Regions from separate parts of the Homo sapiens genome. Here all the other regions are linked to region 2. Evidence: promoter capture Hi-C in 16 types of primary human blood cells and fetal thymus (Javierre and others, 2016). All regions are on one chromosome and are shown on one strand. The core of a region is centred on a gene start or on the middle of the fragment in contact, and the rest is flanking DNA. Distances in the headings are between cores, read along the strand shown.

Evidence for each region. Contacts are between HindIII fragments. The CHiCAGO score rates a contact against its expected background, and 5 or more counts as called.
Region 1: a contact is called between a fragment that was not itself captured here and the fragment with the promoter of FAM135A in region 2, in 2 of 17 cell types (fetal thymus and total CD4 T cells). The highest score is 7.2, in fetal thymus.
Region 3: a contact is called between a fragment that was not itself captured here and the fragment with the promoter of FAM135A in region 2, in 3 of 17 cell types (activated CD4 T cells, fetal thymus and naive CD4 T cells). The highest score is 6.3, in activated CD4 T cells.
Region 4: a contact is called between a fragment that was not itself captured here and the fragment with the promoter of FAM135A in region 2, in 2 of 17 cell types (total CD4 T cells and activated CD4 T cells). The highest score is 5.8, in total CD4 T cells.
Region 5: a contact is called between a fragment that was not itself captured here and the fragment with the promoter of FAM135A in region 2, in 2 of 17 cell types (fetal thymus and total CD8 T cells). The highest score is 7.6, in fetal thymus.
Region 6: a fragment that was not itself captured here is called in contact with the fragment with the promoter of FAM135A in region 2 in 2 of 17 cell types (fetal thymus and total CD8 T cells); the score reaches 5.6 in fetal thymus.

What each region holds. Positions count from the first base shown.
Region 1 is chr6:70,859,766-70,863,088 of GRCh38, reverse strand. It overlaps SMAP1 (small ArfGAP 1), which reads right to left. Exons shown (of 11, transcript NM_001044305.3): 11 at 1,086-2,889. The coding sequence ends at 2,755. It overlaps B3GAT2 (beta-1,3-glucuronyltransferase 2), which reads left to right. Exons shown (of 4, transcript NM_080742.3): 3 at 1,111-1,259; 4 at 1,340-3,323. The coding sequence ends at 1,426. Among named protein-coding and RNA genes, the nearest start is that of B3GAT2, 96 kb to the left of the region's middle. The HindIII fragment of the contact is 5,480 bases long and covers 1-3,323 here.
Region 2 is chr6:70,412,178-70,415,534 of GRCh38, reverse strand. It overlaps FAM135A (family with sequence similarity 135 member A), which reads right to left and starts at 2,027. Exons shown (of 22, transcript NM_001162529.3): 1 at 1,833-2,027; 2 at 159-244. It overlaps FAM135A-AS1 (FAM135A antisense RNA 1), which reads left to right and starts at 1,577. Exons shown (of 2, transcript NR_147708.1): 1 at 1,577-1,698; 2 at 2,473-2,707. RefSeq lists silencers at 1,511-1,660, 2,001-2,220. The HindIII fragment of the contact is 2,225 bases long and covers 773-2,997 here.
Region 3 is chr6:70,710,199-70,713,295 of GRCh38, reverse strand. The region is part of intron 1 of SMAP1 (small ArfGAP 1); the gene reads right to left. Among named protein-coding and RNA genes, the nearest start is that of SMAP1, 44 kb to the right of the region's middle. RefSeq lists an enhancer at 49-98. The HindIII fragment of the contact is 1,146 bases long and covers 1,275-2,420 here.
Region 4 is chr6:70,733,932-70,737,096 of GRCh38, reverse strand. The region is part of intron 2 of SMAP1 (small ArfGAP 1); the gene reads right to left. It also overlaps the pseudogene NDUFAB1P1. Among named protein-coding and RNA genes, the nearest start is that of SMAP1, 68 kb to the right of the region's middle. The HindIII fragment of the contact is 6,398 bases long and covers 1-3,165 here.
Region 5 is chr6:70,819,877-70,823,449 of GRCh38, reverse strand. All of the region lies in intron 6 of SMAP1 (small ArfGAP 1), which reads right to left. Among named protein-coding and RNA genes, the nearest start is that of B3GAT2, 140 kb to the left of the region's middle. The HindIII fragment of the contact is 215 bases long and covers 1,284-1,498 here.
Region 6 is chr6:70,892,642-70,896,090 of GRCh38, reverse strand. B3GAT2 (beta-1,3-glucuronyltransferase 2) reads left to right here. Exons shown (of 4, transcript NM_080742.3): 2 at 1,819-1,963. The region is part of intron 2 of LOC105377850 (a long non-coding RNA gene); the gene reads right to left. Among named protein-coding and RNA genes, the nearest start is that of B3GAT2, 63 kb to the left of the region's middle. The HindIII fragment of the contact is 932 bases long and covers 1,116-2,047 here.

The DNA.
Region 1 (3,323 bases), core at 528-3,027, 450 kb before region 2:
AAACAATTATTACTTGCTGAGATGGCAAAAACAATTGTAGAGTGCTTCAATGGCTGAGCTTTAAACAGTTTGTTAAACTACAGATTAAATACGAATGATTCTTTTTTCTTTGAGACAGGGCCTCATTCTGTTGCCCAGGCTGGAGTTGCAGTGGCACAGTCATAGCTCACAGCAGCCACAACCTCATAGGCTCAGGCAATCCTCCCACCTCAGCCTCCTAAGTAGCTGGGACTACAGGCACGCACCACGTGCCACAACACCCAGCTAATTTTTGTATTTTTTGTAGAGACAGGGTCTCATTATGCTGCCCAGGCTGGTCTTGAACTCCTGGGCTCAAGAGATCCTTCTGCCTTGGCCTCCCAAAGTGCTGAGATTACAGATGTGAGACACTGTGCCCAGCCAGTAATGATTTTTCGTATGACCAAACCATTGAAGAAAATTTACACTTATTTTTGGTAAATGAAATACCAAAAAAAAACTTTATCAGATGATGGCCTGATATCTCCTGCACTGATTTCTGCCCCACATACCCTTTTTAGATTGAACCAAATTAGAAATATAAACCAGATGATTAAAAATTAGGTATGATTCATTTTCCAGCTAATCGGCTTTACTTCTGTTGCTCCCTCTTCTAAATGCAAAATGAATCCAAGCAGTGCTGGATTTAAGGAAGCATACATAATTAATATTACAGGGCAGGCAGGAGAGCTGGGCATGTGGTCTCATACCCCACATGTAGTTAGGTAAGCATGTATGTTTTTCAGCTGCATTTATTTCTTAGTTATTCCTAGTGGCAAATGTGGGGGGTTGATGATCACTGTGAAACAGCAGCTTATAAAATTCACCCTTTATTATCAACAGACTAAACTTCCTATTTTGCGTAGATGCTCCTGTGCACGCCTTTATTTTACACGGAATGTAAAATATTGTAATGACTGATTTTCCTTTGAGACTGTAATACAGGTAATGTTCCTATTCAACTTTGTAAACCAAGACCTGACACACAGTAGGTATTTTAAAAACTGTTTTGATGTGACCAAAATTATACAGAAAAAAAGAGAAGTACACCAGGATTTTAAAGTCTCTTTTTTTTTTTTATTTTTCACAAAGGATTTGCTGTAAGTCTTCAAGTCATTTTGTCCAATCCAAAAGCTGTATTTAAGCGTCGTGGATCCCAGCCAGGGATGCAAGAATCTGACTTTCTCAAACAGATAACAACAGTCGAAGAACTGGAACCGAAAGCAAATAACTGCACTAAGGTATTCATTACACTTGTGCTGCCCGACCTCGAGTGTCACCATGAAGAGTGCGCTACCCAAGCTATTTCCTTCCCCTTCAGGTTCTCGTGTGGCACACTCGGACAGAGAAGGTTAATCTAGCCAACGAGCCAAAGTACCACCTGGACACAGTGAAAATTGAGGTATAAATTGAAGCAGCAACTGGTGCAGTTTGTCCAGCCAGTGGATCCATATGGAAGAGGATGTTTGGAGTTTAGGCTACAGAGCATTCAGGTATTGTTTGTTTTACTTCAGTACAGCAGCCTTTCTTGTCATCTGATGGACATCTGTTTAAATGGAGCTTGTCAGTTAACATAAGCTAATTGGATGGTTGGTACAAAATGTATGTTTTGTCTTCATTTGTTCTGCATGTTTTCTCTACAACAACTAAATTGGAAGATTTTTTTGTACAGTGCCGATACTGCAAGATACCACTCTTGAGTATATATTTTTTCTTTTTCTCCAATTTGCCCTTATAATTGGTAGACTTGAACAGGTTGGTAGACTTGAACAGGTTTTTAAAACAGACAAGTATTTTGTCAGCTAAACGTTCCTGATGATTCCTGACTTTGCAATACTAAGTAATTTTTGGAAGGTTAGTGGCAGTATACATCATAGGAAATAAAAACCCACAAATGAAAAGGTCTATGGAGTCATGTTTAATGTAGGGAAATAACATTTTGTCAATACTAGGCACCATAAAATGTAAACACAATTACTGTCATAAACCTAGATATACCTTCAAGGATTGAAGATTGAAAGTGGCTTTGTTTTAGTTAGTTACCCTGTTTGCATATAGTGCAGAAAAAGGTCTTCATGTTAGCACTATGTACATTAAGAAGAGATCCAAATTACAAGAGAGGCAGATAAAATTTGAATTCTTTAAGCATTCATTAAACGAAGTTTTGGAGTAACATCCACGTTTATCTTCCTTTCACTAATCACGTTCCCTGTTAAGCACATCATAACAACAGCACAGTGAAGTGAATGATGAAATAAGAGCATTTTGATACACTAGAAAACAGTGCTCAGTGAGACATTTACATTCTATTTATATGATTAAACATTTGATCATACAGTACCTTCCTACAGGATTACTGGCTAATTTTGGGGTGGGGTTTATACTATTAGAGGTATTACTAACATGATAACTACTTCCCTTATATGCAAACATTAGAGCTATAATTTTATTGAGAGGAAAACTGATTTTGCAAGTTGAGCAGCTTCTCAAATAATGCAGTACATGAAATCATGGGAAATATGAGCAAAGCTGCCCTTGACATAAAATGATTTATCAACCTGCTTTTCACCACATCAAATTGAATCAGTACAGACCAACACGGTCAATCAGATCATTCTTAATATGAACAAATGGGTAAAAAGAAAAAAAATATGCATATGAATAAACAGGGGAACTAGATGCGTTTCAGCAAGGAATGTCAGGTGGTAGTTCTGGATGAAACTTGTATTGCAGTTTTCATTTCCACAGTTGTGTGCTGAGAGTCTGACCTGATGAGCTTCCAGACCATCCTGCTGTTGTGCTGGAGGGCTGGCCAAAACCTGCAGTAGGGGTTGCACTACTGATACTCATGCCAGCCATCTGCTGATTCATCTGTGAAACATATAAAAGGCTTAGTTCAAGAGGCTTACTTCACTTTTAATTCTTGTTTCTTTAGCCACACAGTTGGTCATTTTTTCATTAATGTGACAACTAGTCCAAGCACTGGAATAAAAACAGAGTACCATACAAATATTTCTTAAAGCAAATAGCTACTTTGTTCCCTTCTTTATCTACTTTCTAGATACAGTTTCCCCAAAGATTAACCACAACTTACTTAAAAAAAAATACCAAAGCAATCTTGGGATTTTAATGAGTCCGCTACTCTAACTAACTTTCACCTACACTAGGATATTGTGCTTTAACTACTAAGGAGTAAGAAAATTTTAGGAAGTAAAATAGTCTAAAATTATCCTATAAACTTTGTATGATAGATATTATTCTCTATTAAAATCTTATATACTTCCTAAATATTTTTAAAGTGGTCA
Region 2 (3,357 bases), core at 778-3,277:
TTACCATACACAATTGCTAGTTCTTCTCAAAGAAGTGTGGTTTGATGACACCAGAGCCTCCTAGTTTTACTTTAAATCACTTTGAATAAGGAACTACACTTTTTTTTTTGCCTTGGTATTTCCCTTCTTAAAACAGAAACAGAAAACTTAATTCCTACCTGACACAGACAACATAAGGAAGAATTTGTTTGTGGACTGCTTTGAGATTCCAGAACCAAATACATAATCCAGTTGATCTTCAACCCTACAATAAAGACAAACTTCACTAAACATAATTGCTTCAGCAGATGCCTTCAAAATAAGATACTATACCATTATTTATGGAAAGAGAAGTTTTATTTAAGCCAAATCTTGATCACAATGCAATGGAGGAAAAAAATTACAAAACCGTTTAGAAAGTTCTTCTGCTCAATTAAAAAATTTAATACTTCTCACGTATGTCTCCTATAAGCACACTAATTCTAAAGGTAGCAGAAATTGTATGCATTTATTAGAGAACAGAGACTCTCAGGAAAATTATGCAATCAATTGCAATAGCAAATGTATAAAACAAATTAATAATACATTTTAAAAAAGAAATTCTGTTAAATTTCATTTAAGATTAGTTCTTGGACAGCTACACCTAATGGAGGACAAGAAAATTTCCAAATTTTAAGTGTATGTTTGTAGGTCAACCTTTAACAAGTCTTAACCCATTATAGTTTCATTTAGTCTGTACTCAAGTTGCTTTCCCAGGCATGCCAGGTAAACATAATTCTTAAAAATTAAAGCTTTAATCAGTAAGTGTAACCGATTTGTTGCTACTGTCACTCTTTTGATGATACTTCCACCAACCGGTAAAGAAAGAAGAAATGTTATTAAACTGGAAGATGAACTAGAAACATTGAGTGGATACCTAGCTTAGGCAGAAAGCAGCAAGGACTAGAAGGGTATGTCACAAAGAAGTCTTCAGAGATTTAATAAAAAGTAAAACAAATGGAATGAAGTTAAGAGGCTTGACTTATACAAATGGGGGGGGGAGGGTGGAAGAGTTTTGGAGGGGAAAAAATTAAGATTAGAGACTCACTGGGTGCAGAATGGAAAAGGACGTGAGGATAGGGGCCATTAGACAGAAAGCGATGAAGCAGGGTACCAGAGGAAAGAGAAGGCAGTGAGGGTTTCCGAAGCTAAGATGGGGCATGGAATGAACTCCAATGCAAAGCGATGCTAAAGCAAAACACAATCGGCAACTAACAAAAAGGGAACCAGGAGGAAGTACCGAAAGGAGGTGGATGAGAGGAAAATAAAACCAAGGAAGAAATTATGGAGGTAACAAGAGTGAGAAACCTGGTCGGCCAGGGTAAGGAGCTCCGGACAGGGAAGAGCCAGGCAAGGGATGGAAGCACAGAGATACGCTGCTTCCCAAGGAGGGACCACCCGGGCAAAAAGACACGTGGGAGGCGCGGGATGAAAAAGCAGAACCACGAAAGCGGGTAAAGGAGGGACAGAGCGACGAAGATGGAGCAGGGGTGAAGGGCAAACACGCTAGGCGCGAGGTTCAGGAAGAACGGGTCGAGGGACGCGCGCAGGGGCAGGGGCGGCCGCGGGCACCGGGAGAGCAGCGCGCCGCGGCCCCTCGCCTCCCTCAGAGCGCTCCGCACCGCCGTCCCCACCGACCTTCAACGGGGCCGGGGCCAGGCTCCGACCGCCAGCAGTCGGGTGAGGGGCCGCGGCGGGCGAACGGCGGACGAAGAGGAGGCCGCTTCCTTCCTGGCCCCTGGGCAAGAGGGACGGAGGGAGGGGTCGTGGGTGTCGGGAGCCGGGGGAGCCAGAGGGGACAGTAAGGGGGTTACCTCTCGCCCGGCTCGGCCTCTTCCCCCGCCTGTCGAACGGAGGAGCTCGTTGTCCAGCTGCAAGAAGACGGCCCGACCCGGGTCAGCACCATCCCGCCCCGGGCCCCCTCACATCGCCATCACAGCAACCGCAAACACCGCAACCGCGGAGCCGGTTCGTCACCGCGGCTCGGCTACTGGCCCAGCGCGGCCAGCGAGCATGCGCAGTCGCCCCAGTCCCGAGGGAGCCCGGGCCAGCCGGCTATACCTGCGATCAACAGGTCCCCGGCCGCACGGCCCCGCCCCCGGCCTCTCTCACCTCCTCCTCCCGCCTCTTCCCTCCCCTCTCTGAGGCTAGGCCCCGCCCCTTCAAGCTCCGTGCCCCGCCCTTCAGGAGCTTCAACTGCCCCTCCAGCTCCAGCGCCAACTGAGATTTCGAGAGATTTGTCCTCCCTACCAGGCTCCCGTTCCCAAGTTCCCGCGAGAACGGGAGGTTTGCGTCAATAAAAGGCGCGCGTCAAGAAAAGGGGCTCGCTTGTGGGTTTAAGGGATGGAACTTGGAGGTGGTTGAAGAGTAGTGAACAAGAAGAGGGCAAAAACACGGAGTTCGAGAACTTTAGCCGTTTTTCTCACAATGTTGTTTCTCCTTTTCTCTCTTTAGCTCCTCCGTGCAGTCCCGGGTAGAGAGCCCGGTCCCTGCGCTAGTCGATTTGTGCAGTAGGAAAGGAGGCTGCAGGGGATCTGCGCCGGGGCAGGACAGATGCCTTTCGGGACCCAGTGTTTGCATCTTGGGAGATGTGGGTGCTGATCTGGTTGTTTCTTGGTTTATGACGCCAAAAAGGGCGGGAGGGGGCTGATGAAGTGAAGCCTTTCGCTAATACATTCCGTTAACAGAAGCCCACGAAGGATCATTGATTTATTTCACTCTTCCCTGTTTCTGAACCTTATCTGGCAAAAACTTTTGTGGTGCATAAAGTTCAGTATGTTGCTAAAGCTGAGTTAATGAAAGGAAAATTTCAGCTGCGACTCTTGTTTTAAAAATGAATCTAGGATGGATAGTGGTGTTGGTTGCACAACAATGAATGGACATAATGCTACTGAACTGTGCACTTAAAAATGGTTAAAATGGTAAATTTTCTGTTATGTATATTTTACCACAATAAGAATGAATTAGAAGGGAAAAGCTTTGTGCATTCATTTGAAAGTAATGGTGAGGTCTTGTAACGTAGGCCATTTAGGGGACAGGTTTTGAATATATCTTTGTACCAGTTTTTTTTTTTTTCGAGTGTGTGTGTGAGACAGAGCATTGCTCCGTCGCCCAGGCGGGAGTGCAGTAATGTGATCTCGGCTCACTGCAACCTCTGCCTCCGGAGTTCAAGCAATTCTCCTGTCTCAGCCTCCCTAGTAGCTGGGACTACAGGCGCACACCACCACGCCTGACTACTTTTTGTATTGTTAGTAGAGACGTGGTCTCACCATATTGGTCAGGCTGGTTTCGAACTCCTGACCTTAGGTGATCCACCCGCCTTGGCCTTCCAAAGTGCTG
Region 3 (3,097 bases), core at 598-3,097, 300 kb before region 2:
AAAGAAAGTAAAAAAACACAGATAAATCAAATAAAGCATAGAAAAACCACAGGAAAAAAAATCAACAAAACTAAGAGTTGGTTGTTGAGAAAATAAAACTGACAAACTCCCAGGTAGTCTAAGAGAAAGAGAGAGAAGACTAAAAATCAGAAATGAAAGAGGAAGCATTACAAAGGATGTCTCTGAAATATAAAAAAATCACAGGATGGGTGCAGTGGCTCACACCTGTAATTCCAGCACTTTGGGAGGCCGAGGTGGGTGGATCATTTGAGGTCAGGAGTTCAAGACCAGCCTGACCAACATGGTGAAACCCCATCTCTACTAAAAATACAAAAAATGAGCCAGGTGTGGTGGCACATGCCTGTAATCTCAGCTACTCAGGAGGCTGAGGAAAGAATCACTTGAACCCGGAAGGCAGAGGTTGCAGTGAACCATGATTGTGCCACTGCACTCCAGCCTAGGTGACAGAGTGAGATTCTGTCTCAAAAAAAAAAAAAAGAAAAGAAAAAAAGAAAAAAGAAAAGAAAAGAAAAGCAATAAAAAAAAATAAGGAACTACTTATAAACAACTAGGTGCCAATAAATTGAATAACCTAAAGGAAACAGATAAATTCCTAGGAACATAAAACCTATCAAGACTGAATCAAGAAGAAACAGAATTTCCTCAACAGTCAAATTACAAATAGAGATGAAAGAAGTAATCAATAACCTCTCAACAAAGAAAAATCCAGGACCAGATGGCTTCACAGCTAAATTCTACCAAACACTCAAAGAAGAATTAACACCAATCCTTCTTGAAGTTTTCCAAAAAATAAGTAGAGGGAGTATTTCCAAACTCATAGTATGAAGCCAGTATCACCCTCAGGGTAGTACCAAAGCTGGACAAAGATGCCACAAGGAAAGAAAGCTGTAAGCCAATATCTCTGATGAGCACACATTCAAAAATCTTCAGTAAAATACCAGCAAACCAAATTCAACAACACATTAAAAAGATAATACACTTTGACCAAGTGGGATTTTCCTCTGGGATATAAGGTTGGCTTAACATACACAAATCAATCAAGGTGATTACCCCTCATTAACAGAATGAATGATACAAGCCACATGATCATCTCAATAAATGAACAAAAAAGCATTTGACAAAAGTTCCACATCTTTTCATAATAAAAACTTTCGACAGAATAAGTATAGAAGGAAACTTCCTCAACATAATAAAGGCCATTTATGAAAAACTCAAAGCAAACATAATAATCTGTGGGGGAGAAACTGAAAGCTTTTCTTCCAAGATCTGGTACAAGGAAAGGATATCTATTCTCACCACTTCTATTGAACACAGAATTGGAAATATTAGCAAGAGCAATCCTACAAAAGACATAAACAGCATCCAAATCAGAAAGGAAAAGGTAAAATTATCCTCATTTGCAGATGACGTAATCCTTTATGTAGAAAATACTAATGACTCCATTAAAAATATATACATATTAGGCCAGGTGCGGGTCCCAGCATTTTGAGAGGACGAGGCAGGTGGATCACCTGAGGTCAGGAGTTCGAGACCAGCCTGGCCAACATAGTGAAACCCCATCTCTACTAAAAACACAAAAATTAGCCGGGCATGGTGGCAGGCGCCTGTAATCCCAGATACTCAGGAGGCTAAGGCAGAAGAATCGCTTGAACCTGGGAGGCGGAGGTCACAGTGAGCAGAGATCGCGCCAATGCACTCCAGCCTGGGTGACAAGAGTGAAACTCTGTCTCAAAAAAGAAAAAAAAAAAAAAGAGCTAATAAATTAATTCAGTAAAGTAAAACACAAAATCAACATACAAAAATCAGCTGCATTTATTTATACCAATAGTGATCGATCTGAAAGAGAAAACACAACAAAAGGAATAAAATACAGTCAGGCTCTGCATAATGACCTTTCAATCAATGACAGACCACATTTACAGTAACAGTTCCATGAGATTATTATGGAAATAAAAAATTCCTATTGCCTAGAGACATTGTAATTATTGTGACATCGTAGCACAACAAATTACTAACATGTCTGTGATAATGCTGGTGTAAATAAACCTATTGCACTGCCAGCTGAATAAAAGTATAGCACACACAATTATGTACTTGATAATAAATGACTATGGTACTGGTTTATGTATTTACTATACTTTTTACTGTTATTTTAGAATGTACTCCTTCTACTTATTAAAAAAAGTTAACTGTAAAATAGCCTCAGGTAGGCCCTTCAGGAGGTATTCCAGAAGACAGCATTATTATTATAGGAAATGACAGCTCCATGTGTGTTATTGCCCTTGAAGACCTTCCATGGGATAGGATGTGAAGGTGAAAGAGGGATACTGAAAATCCTGAACCTGTGGAGTCCTAGGCTAATATGGGTGTTCGTGTCTTAGTTTTGAACAAAAAAAGCTTAAAAAGTAAAAAAGCAATAATAATAATAGACAAAAGCTTATAGAATAAGGATATAAAGAAAATGCCTTGTATAGCTGTACAACGTGTGTCTTAAACTGTTATTACAAAAGAGTCAAGAAGTTTAAAAAATTTTTGAAGTTTTTAGATAATAAAAAGTTACAGTAAGCTAAGGTTAATTTATCAAGAAATTTTTAATATCAATTTATTCTAGCCTAAGTGTACAGTGTTTACAAAGCCTACAGTAATGTCTTACACCTTCACATTCATTCACTATTCACTCACTGACTTACCCAGAGCAACTGCCAATTCTGCAAGCTCCAATCATGGTAAGTGCCCTATATGTGTATGCCGTTTACCCTTTTTTTTTTTTTTTTTTTTTTTGAGATGGGAGTCTCGCTCTGTCACCAGGCTGGAGTGTGCAGTGACGCAATCTCGGCTCACTGCAACCTACGCAATCTCGGGTTCAAGCGATTCTCCTGCCTCAGCCTCCCGAGCAGCTGGGACTACGGGTGCATGCCACCATGTCCAGCTAATTTTTGTATTTTTAGTAGAGATGGGGTTTCACCATGTTGGCCAGGATGGTCTCTATCTCTTGACCTCATGATCCGCCCACCTCAGCCTTCCAAAGTGCTGGGATTACAGGCGTGAGCTACCACACCCAGCCTGTTTTTTATCT
Region 4 (3,165 bases), core at 377-2,876, 320 kb before region 2:
GAACACACTATCAGATTGTTTCAGCAGAAAGAACTGTCTGGTACAGCCAAAGCTATTTGTTGTAAAGCATCTGAAGTAAGGTCAAAGACAAATGATGAAGCCAGAAGGCAGAGGAACATGAAGACCAGTTTAATGAAAATAAAAAGTTTTATGAGTCTCACAGAAGAATCAATGCAAATTTCTTAGGATGGAAGTAAAATAACCAAAGCAATGTTCTAGGAAAATTACTCTGAATGCACTGTGTAAAACAAATGGAGATGTGACACTGATGAGAACATCAGAAATAAGGCAAAGCCTTGGACTTGTCGGAGAAATGAAACTAGAAAGCAGCAGAAGCAAGAAAAGAATTAAGAACACAGAAGTAAAAGGGAGAAAGGAGTAAGAACCATAGAATATACAAGTTTTTAAGAGTAACTGGAACAATGACATTAACTTTCTTTCCAAACAGCTCATTATTTCAATTTTAGTTTGTCAAGCTGCAAGTAGAATAAAGACATCTACTAATCTTAATATTTACAAATGCTAAACATTAATAACTATCACTATAGACCAAATTTCCATACTGAAACAATTTCATAAATCCTTGTTTCCTGTATCCATATGGCATATACAGGGATTTGTTTGATACTGCTATAAAACAACAGTTAATTCTGGTATTCCATTCTTTACTCCACCCAAATGTATAATATCTTGGGTGGGGGGAGGGGAAGGAAGCTATAGTATTTATAAAAGTATAAAAAACTTGGTCCTTTCCAAAAATTTGAGAAGTACGTGACAATAAACCCAAGACCAAACACAATTAATCTGACCATGAACCACATTAAAAGAACTTTTAAGACTTTTTTACAGTGAGTAACTTTATTTCTATGTTATTAAAAATCAAAGTAAGTTTTGGGTAACAACTATTTTCTTTTAAAAATAAGCATACAGCAATTCTAACAGCTGTACATGTTGTGCTCTAAAAACTGAAACACATAACATATACATAAATAACAGATAAAAATATGGTACATATAATATCAGTTTATAAGTAACCTTGAGGAAAAACTTAGTATTTACATTTTACAGAATTATACACACACACACACACAAAGAACATTTTTATTTAACAGCTTGACTGGGCTCAAAGATTAAATCATGTTTCCATATTTACTAATAAAAGGTATTTTTAAAAAAATAGAGCTAGCCAAAACAGTATCATCTTTGAAAATTAGAAACACAATTATGAAATGTTGCAGGGAAAGACAAAGGGTATAACTATGTAACTATGTACAGTAAAAGTATTTCTCTTAGTTCCATAAATAAATACCTCCCAAGTACTTCTTTTTTAGGCTGAGTCTCACTCTATAACTCATGGCGGAGTGCAGTGGCAGGATCTTGGCTTACTGCAAGCTCCACCTGCCAGGCTCAAGTGATTCTCCCACCTCACTTTCCAGAGTAGCTGGGACTACGGGTGTGTGTTACCACACCCTGCTAATTTTCGTATTTTTAGTAGAGACGGGGCTTCGTAATGTTGGCCAGGCTGGTCTCAAACTCTCGGATCTGCCCACTTTGGCCACCCAAAGTTCTGGGATTACAGGAGTGAGCCACCGCTCCTGGCCTCAAGCACTTTTTATATCAAAGAAATTATTATAAAATATCATATGAATATGGAACATTATATCACATTGTGATCATCACTTTTGCCCATCTGAATTAAACGTCAAAGTTAATAGGAACAGCCTCCAAAAAGACAGACATTTTAATGTATAGCAAAACTAACCCAATGGGATAGAAATCAGTGTAGTGTATGCCCCTGGGGGACTTGACTGGAAATTGGCATGAAGGAACTTTCTAGTGTGACAGAAATGCTCTATCTTCACTGGGGTATTGGTGACATCATACAGACATTTGCCAAGACTCATAAAACTAAATGAGATCTGTGAACTGTTCTCTCTGTAATTATAAGTCAAGTTTTTTCTTTTTTTGGTTTTATACGTTTATTTTCAGAGTAAAACAATTACACAATTTAAACCCAGGTCTAACAGAATTACTCTGCCAAAGTCAGCAATAATGCCAAAATGCATTCTCACTTCCAGACACTCACCAGTATCATCTGAGTCTTCTCCCAGTGAAGCAAAAGGGTCTGATATTTTATTCATATACATCTCTCTTATCTGCAATATAATCTACAATTTCTTGTGGACATATTAACTTTTCCATATCTATACCAGGAATTTCAAACCCAAATTTATCTTCCATGACCATGCTTACTCTCTACTTGGTCCAAACTGTCCAAGCACAGGTCTTTCATAAAGTAAGAATTCACTGAGAGCTTCTCTGGGTCAATCCTGTCACAGGGTTTCAAGATATAAAGAAGACAGTCTTCGATTCCCTCTAACATCAAAGGGGGCAAGTCACTATACTGACAGCACGACTGTGTAACTTCTACCCAGCACGTGCGCAAGCACCAAAGCCCGCTGTGGAGCCAGCTGCAAAGCCCCAGCCTCATCAGAGTCCCCACAGAGCACAGGCGATGCTGAGCAGCAGGCTGTGGCCAGCACGGGACCCGGTGCATCAGTGTGATGGCCAAGGGCAGGTGGCAGACACAAGCTGCCATGGCTACCCCGACCAGGATTTCCTACCTCAATTTTTTAAAAAGAAACACAGGAGACCGGGTCCAGTGGCTCATGCCTGTAGTCCCAGCACTTTGGGGGGCCAAGGTGGGCAGATCACTTGAGGTCAGGAGTTCGAGACCAGCCTGGCCAACATGGCAAAACCCCACCTCTAATAAAAATACAAAAATTAGCAACACATGGTGGCACGCACCTGTAATCCCAGCTACTTGGGAGGCTGAGGCAGGAGAATCGCTTGAACCCAGGAGACAAACGCTGCAGTGAGCAGACATCACACCACTGCACTCCAGCCTGAGCAATAGCATGAGTGAGACTCCGTCTCAAAAAAAAAAAGATGGGAAGAGCAGGGGAGGGGGGCCAGACAGAGCAATTCCTATCAAGAAGTTGGCAAATGCAATCAAATAATGTTCAAATACAATTTCAAATATTATTATTTAATAACTGTTTTTAAAATCCTTACATTGTAAAAAAAAAAAAATCCAATATATTGCCATGTACTTGTAACCTATGCCAAAGAAAACCAGTGAACTGCAGCCCTCTGATTACAAAA
Region 5 (3,573 bases), core at 142-2,641, 410 kb before region 2:
GCTAGGAGTTTTATTAGAGCTTAACCTACCTAGAGGAAGGAAAATACCCAATTCTACTCCCCTCCAGCCATCCTGTCTCACCTAAGGGGTGCAGGATAGAGGCACTTGTGAAGTATATAACATAGGGGCACAGGCTCATTAAAGGACTGAGACCTAATCACAGGATTATAGAACACTTCCCCTCCCCCGAAATATTAATAAAGTCCTATTTATCTGAGTTCCTTTCACCCACTACATCATGTCTAGCTTTCATTAAAACATTACAAACATACTAAAAGGTAAAAAACACAGTTTGAAGAGAAAGATCAAGCATCATAGCCATACTCAATTATGGCAGATATGTTGGAATTATCAGACCATGAATTTAAAGCAGCTATCATTAGTATGCTAAGGGCTCTAATGGAAAAAGTAGACAATATGCAAGAATAGATAGGTAATATAAAGAGAGATGAAAATTCTAAGAAAGATTAAAAAAGAAATAAAGAGATCAGAATTGAAGAACGCTTTTGGTGGGCTCATTAGGAGACTGGACACAGCTGAGGGAAGAATCTCTGTGCTTGAGGATACATCAATACAAACTTCCAAAACAGAAAAGCAAAGGAAAAAAAAAACACTGAAGAAATGGAAAAGAATATCCAAGAACTGTGGGACAACTAAAAAAGTGTAACATACATGTAATGGAAATACCAGATGGAGAAGAAGGAACTGAACGTAAGAAATATCTGAAACAGTATGACAGAATTTCCCCAAAATTAATGTTGGATACAAAACCACACATCCAGGAAGCTCAGAGAACACCAACTAAGATAAAAGGCCAAAAAATTATACCCAAGTACATCATGTTCAAACTGCAGAAAATCAAAGATACAGAGTTGAGGTCCTTTGCCCTTACCTTTTCTTGCTTCTTTCCTTCCCATTCCTATTTTTGGATGTTATAGAAATAGACTGAAAAGCCATATAGCATATTGGTTAAGGATACATATTCTGAAGGCAGACTGATCATATTCAATTCTCAGCACAGCCACTACTCAATAGCTGTGTGACCATGAATAAATTGCCAAACTTCTGTCTCTCAGGTTCTCATCATAAAGGAGAATAATAATGGTATCAACCTGATATAACTATTGTGAGGACTACGAAATAATATATTTAAAGAGCTTAGAACAATGCCTCACAAACATTAAGCACAAAGTATGTGCTTGCTATTTTTATTACCTTCAATGACCCATCTAATCTAATTGTTGACCCTTTCACCTGGGCTGCAACATTCTTAAGTATAAGCTTTAACTTAGTAAAACTACCCTCTATCAAAGTGTATATATTCAGGAAGTATTTTCCTAATTTTCTATTTCAGGAAATTTCTAATTTACTAAGAAGAACTGTAAAGCATGCATGCTTAGTGAACAAAAGCCTTTCTTTCATTAACTAGGAAATGAAAGCTCTGCACATAAAGTAATTGGATTTCTTCCCTTTTTATTGCCTCACTTGCAATAAAGCTTCAAATGATTGCAAAAACATTTTAGAAATTCCATGAAGAAAAAAATGTTTTCAATTTACTACAAGCCTGTAATAGAACCTAAAATATGGTTTTCTGCTACAACCTACACATTCTTTATCATCACAGTTACTTTGATAATAAGCAAGTGTTAAAAAGCTATTACATCTCTGGCGGGTTTCTTCTTCTAGGCTTGCGGGCATTGTAGTAAATGGTTATTTAACTAACAAAATAAAGTTACTATCATCTTGCTATTGCTTTCTGTTAAGTAATAATTCTTATTTTAGGTATTCAATTCGCTCTTTTTAAAACTAGGTAAAACAAAACAGTAAGAACAGAGCAAACCATCTTGGCTGAAAGAGCTTTCTTCACGTAGTAGTCAATATTTTTTCAGGCTAATTAAATTTACTCATTTAAAGATAACCTCTCAACTGCCAGGAAATTCTGTACTCTTGATTAGCACAGAATAAGAAAAAGATTAGTTTCTATACTCACTAGGATATTTTTCTTCATGACAATGCCATATATTTATAAGAATGTTCATAGCAGCTTTACTCATTGAAGTCCTAAGCCAGAAACGACTCAAATGTCCACTAACAGCAGAATAAAAAAAAAAGTATGGCATATGTAGACAGACAATAGAAGAATGTTCAGCAATAAGAAATGAGAATGCAATGACATAAATGAATCTCACAGACGCAATGATCAGCAAAAGAATCCATACAGAGGAAGAGTTGCATGGTATGATTACATTTACATGAAACTCAAAAACAGACAAAACTTAATCTTGTTGATATAAATCTAAATAGTGATTCAAAGTTTTTAATAATCCTCTTAATTTTTCTCTTTAAAAACAGGACATCTTGAGAAAATGGGGCAGGGAGGGGGGGAAATCCTAACAGGAACTTCAAGTGCTACCTAGAGTGATATCTACTAAGGAAAAGGATACAGAAATCAAACTTTAGACTTTACAAGGTCTAAATCCAGCAGCTATTGATTATTCCCTTGAACCACTGTTACTGTTTGTATTAATTAGTTTATTTACGTATGATAGTTTGGCCTACTTAAAAATAAGAGTCGAAAAGCAAACTTCTAAATAATGCTTATTATAAAAAAGCAAATCAACACACTCTGCAAAATTAAATGGGAAAAAATAACCAAAAAAATCTGCTAGACTGTCTTAGATGGAAGTTCTCTCTCACTTGATCAAATTATCTTGAACAATAAAGTTTTCTTTTTTTTTTTTTTCCGAGATGGAGTCTCACTCTTAGCCCAGGCTGGAGTGCAGTGGCACGATCTCGGTTCACTACAACCTCAGCCTCCTGGGTTCCAGCAATTCCCCTGCTTCAGCCTCCTGAGTAGCTGGGATTACAGGCACCTGCTACCACACCCAGCTAATTTTTTGTATTTTTAGTAGAGACGGGGTTTCATTAGCCAGGATGGTCTCGATCTCCTGACCTCATGATCCGCCCGCCTCGGCCTCCCAAAGTGCTGGGACTACAGGCGTGAGCCATTGCACCCGGCCTAAATAATAAAGTTTTCATAATATTTCTCTAGTCTCTGTATCAAGGCATACCATAGTTATCACAATCAAATTAAAGAGTTTCCTTTTCTTTTTTAATTAAAAAGCTCATAACATCAATTATGACTATTACCTATAGAAAAATGACATGAAAATCTATAAACAATATCTCTACTGATACATCCAATACATATAATGCTTATATATTTAATCAAAAGAAGATATTCCTTAAAGGTATAAATACAAGAAGAATTTGAAATCATTTTTTATATTTTTGCTTATAACATTCTGTCATCAATATATGGCTCCAGAACCTTATCTTTAATCACATCCCTATAGCTCCAAACACATGAGAAAATATTAAAAGAAAAAATCCATAAGATTAGTCAGGCTCAGAACCGAGGTAAGTATCTTCCTGGAGCAGAAATCAAAGAGAAAGGCAAGCAGACAGTGGGACTGAAGCCACTATCCTATAGAGCCTTATGGGCAGGAAATAGAATCTCACATAGTAATAGGGGATTTCAAGTCCAGTCCAATGTTTGAAACCACAGGCTAA
Region 6 (3,449 bases), core at 332-2,831, 480 kb before region 2:
TGTTCAGGGCTTGTCACATAGGCACTCTTGCCCACCAATATTTCATATTCCTGAAAGGAAAGCAGTTGTTCAGTGCCCCAGACAGATAAAATAACCTTATAAGGGTAGGAAATGTTTCAAAAGCTGTGTTCCCGGACACTAGCCAAGGGCAAGCCTTGCAAGCAGACCTTTCTAAAGATAAGGCTTTAGATAAAGTCTCAGGCTTGTTAACACTTTTCTGCAGTCACTTATACCTCAGCTTGTTAAAAAAAAAAAAAGTTGTAAAAGTTAGTGTGAGTTAGCACAAGACAGTTGCAGTTCATTTATTGAAAAAATGATAAGAGATTATAAAAAATAGTAACTTTAGATTTGAGGCAGACCAATGCAGTGAGAACCTCATTACCTGGAATGCTTCATACCCTTAAATCCCCTCTTTGGAATTAGCCAGGAGTGTTGGTGGGTGGCTGTAATCGAGCTACTCAGGAGGCTGAGGCAGGAGAATTACTTGAACCCGGGAGGCAGAGATTGCAGTGAGCCAAGATCACACCACTGCACTCCAGCCTGGGCAACAGAGTGAGACTCTGACTCCAAAAAAAAAAAAAAAAAAAAAAAAAAATCCCCTTTTTGGAACAAGGTAGGATAATAATAAGTAAAACCAGGAAGCTTGGCTAATGGGAGCTTCTAATTATTTTTACTCTTTAATATTGTGACTTTCATTTCTATTGTATTTGAAAATCTTTCCAAGGTATATCATTTTTTTCCTTTCATAAAAAATTCCTTGGTTGATGTTCATTATTTAACCACTGGTTAACTGATTATGACCCAGTTCAGTTCTATAGCAAATAAAAGATAAAGCACTGCTGTTGAAATTATAATTACCTCAACAACAAGACCACCTCATGCAGTTGTGCAGGTTATACCTCGTCCAAGGCACACCCAGCTGTGAGGGTGCGTGGAGCTTAAGTCCAGCTTGTACTTTGCCAAGCTATGGGCTCCAGCATGGGGTGTGTCTGCCCGAGAAAGGGGCACCTTTTTCTAGTTTATGCTAAGATGCCTTTTGAGCTGTTCAGCATGAGCCCTGGAAAAAGGTGGTGGTAGCGATTTTCTCCTACAGTGCTGCCTAATATCAGCAAGCTTTCTTGTGGGCATCTCTTTCCCCTTAAAGAAATCCAGCTAGTAACTTTCAGTTGAGCGTCATGTTTAACCAGGATTCCACTGTGTGTAACAAGGACAAGCGATTCCAACGGTCTCTAGTTTGGCCCAATTGCCCTTAAAAGGCAGGCAAATGTTTAGGGTATGTGTTTCTTTTTATCACTCTGGAAGAAGCCAGGTTCAGGTCTGTATCTGGATCCCATTATTAATGTCCCCAGCCAAGAATTCTGTGTATGTATAGCAATAGAAAAGTCAGAGAAAGGACGCTCCTGTGACTTCTCTGAAGTTTTTGTTCTTCCTGAGTAATGAAGTTTCCTAAAGGGGAATTAAACTTTCTCACCTCGGAAGATAGAAGTATTGTTTAAAGATTCAACTTTGAAACAAATAGGAAAATATCTGATAGTTGCAACTTAGCTTCAAATCAGCGATGTCCAGATATTGACAACCATTTTATTTCTCCTAAACCTTGAGCCCTAGCCCAATTTATGACCGAGTAGAGATCATGGCACAGCAGCCAGCCTAACAGATGGGGGCCATACTCTAGCAGCAGAAGGATTCTGTTTTGAAACCTTCAGCTTTTGAAATCTTACACCACTACCAGCCCTACTTCTTCTACATAGATCACATTCATTTCCTCCCTCTTTTTCCTAAGGAAACTTAAAACACATGTCTTTTCCCTTTTTATAGATGCGAACCACCCGCAAGGTCTCCGTCTGGCCTGTGGGCCTGGTTGGTGGGCGGCGCTACGAACGTCCGCTGGTGGAAAACGGCAAAGTTGTTGGCTGGTACACCGGCTGGAGAGCAGACAGGCCTTTTGCCATCGACATGGCAGGTGAGCAGTGTGGGTGATGACATTTGTTCCTGCTGGACTGTTCTTATGCTCTTGTTTATAACGATGCACTAGATGAAGGAAGCTTTAAAAGACAAATTTGGATAAAACCCTACATCATATCATATTCAGGAGATGAAATATTTAAACCTTCAAAATAGGCTCTTTGGTTAGATCAAGTGGAAATTGATTTGGAGGGTGATTAGAAAATGCCCTTTCTGTTCCATTTTGTCCCCTGTCTGTGCCTTTATCCCACAAGCGTCTACATGGCAGCTACTGGGTTGGCCACTGGGGATTCGGTGGTGAGAGCTAGACCTGGCTCCTGCCTTCCAGGGGTCTGTTAGCTGGAACCTTTTGACTCCCTTTTCTAGAAGACTGATATATTAAAATATATCATGTTTATTGATAAATTTAACAATGATATAAAAATTGACAAGTCATTTTAATGCTTATTGATAGGTTTAGTGCTTTATTGATATATTTAATACTAAAATATAAACTTAGATTTCTGGTATTTCAAGAATTTATTGAGTATAACTGTCTTAAAGTTTTTATTCCCTGAACAACCAACTGAATTGAATTAGCCCTGCAGTAGGACCACACGTTCTAAAATGCTACTTTATCATAAAACAACTCATTTTCTATGGGTTATAGAAAATGATGCCTGTGATAACTGTGGAAGGATGGAGTTTGAAACATGAGGCTCAGAGGCAAAAAAAAAAAAAATTCGGTGACATCTATACTCTTAAAAATGAAGGCAGAAAGGCTTCAAAATTGATCTCATCAATCTTGAGCTCTGAAGCACAGCTCTGTCGGGCTGCCAGCCTGTGCTTGCCCCATCTTCTGTGCATATTTCCCAGCCGTAGTCAAGATCTCCGCGTTCAGAATTCTGATGGGATGGAGGCTGTCTTCTGAACTGGATTCATCACTTTTATTCTGACAATACTATAAATCTGAGGGAGCCAGAGGACGAAGAATACCAGGAGTCATCTGAGGGGCACAGCGCTCATGGACAGCTGTGTGGTGGGTCTTGTCACATGGCATCGTGGGAGAGGACAAATAGGAGATTTTTACTCAACATTTAACACACATCTCCACAGCACCAGCCCTCAGCCAGGCCATGTCTCAGGCCCCTGACCTCTCCATCCCTCTGTTACTCCAGCTGTTTGCTTTGGTCTTCAGTTCTTGCAGCTCCAGAACTGAGCTGGCATCTCAGTCTAGGTCTCCACCTGGAGGCAGAAGGAGAGGCAGCTGAGCCATCTTGGACGGTCCTGAGGACCCTCGAAAGAGGCCTGCCCTCGACCCGCTCAGAGTGCATGGCCCTGAAAACATGGGGCATAGTGTATCTTTTGAAAATCGGGCTTCTTGCTGACCAGAAGTGTACCTTAGAGCAGAAAATTTAGACAACATTAGGGAAAGTCCTTCTGCTTCTCTGGGATGTAGTTTTCTTGTGTAAAGTGAGGCAGCTGCCGGAGATGACCACCAGGGC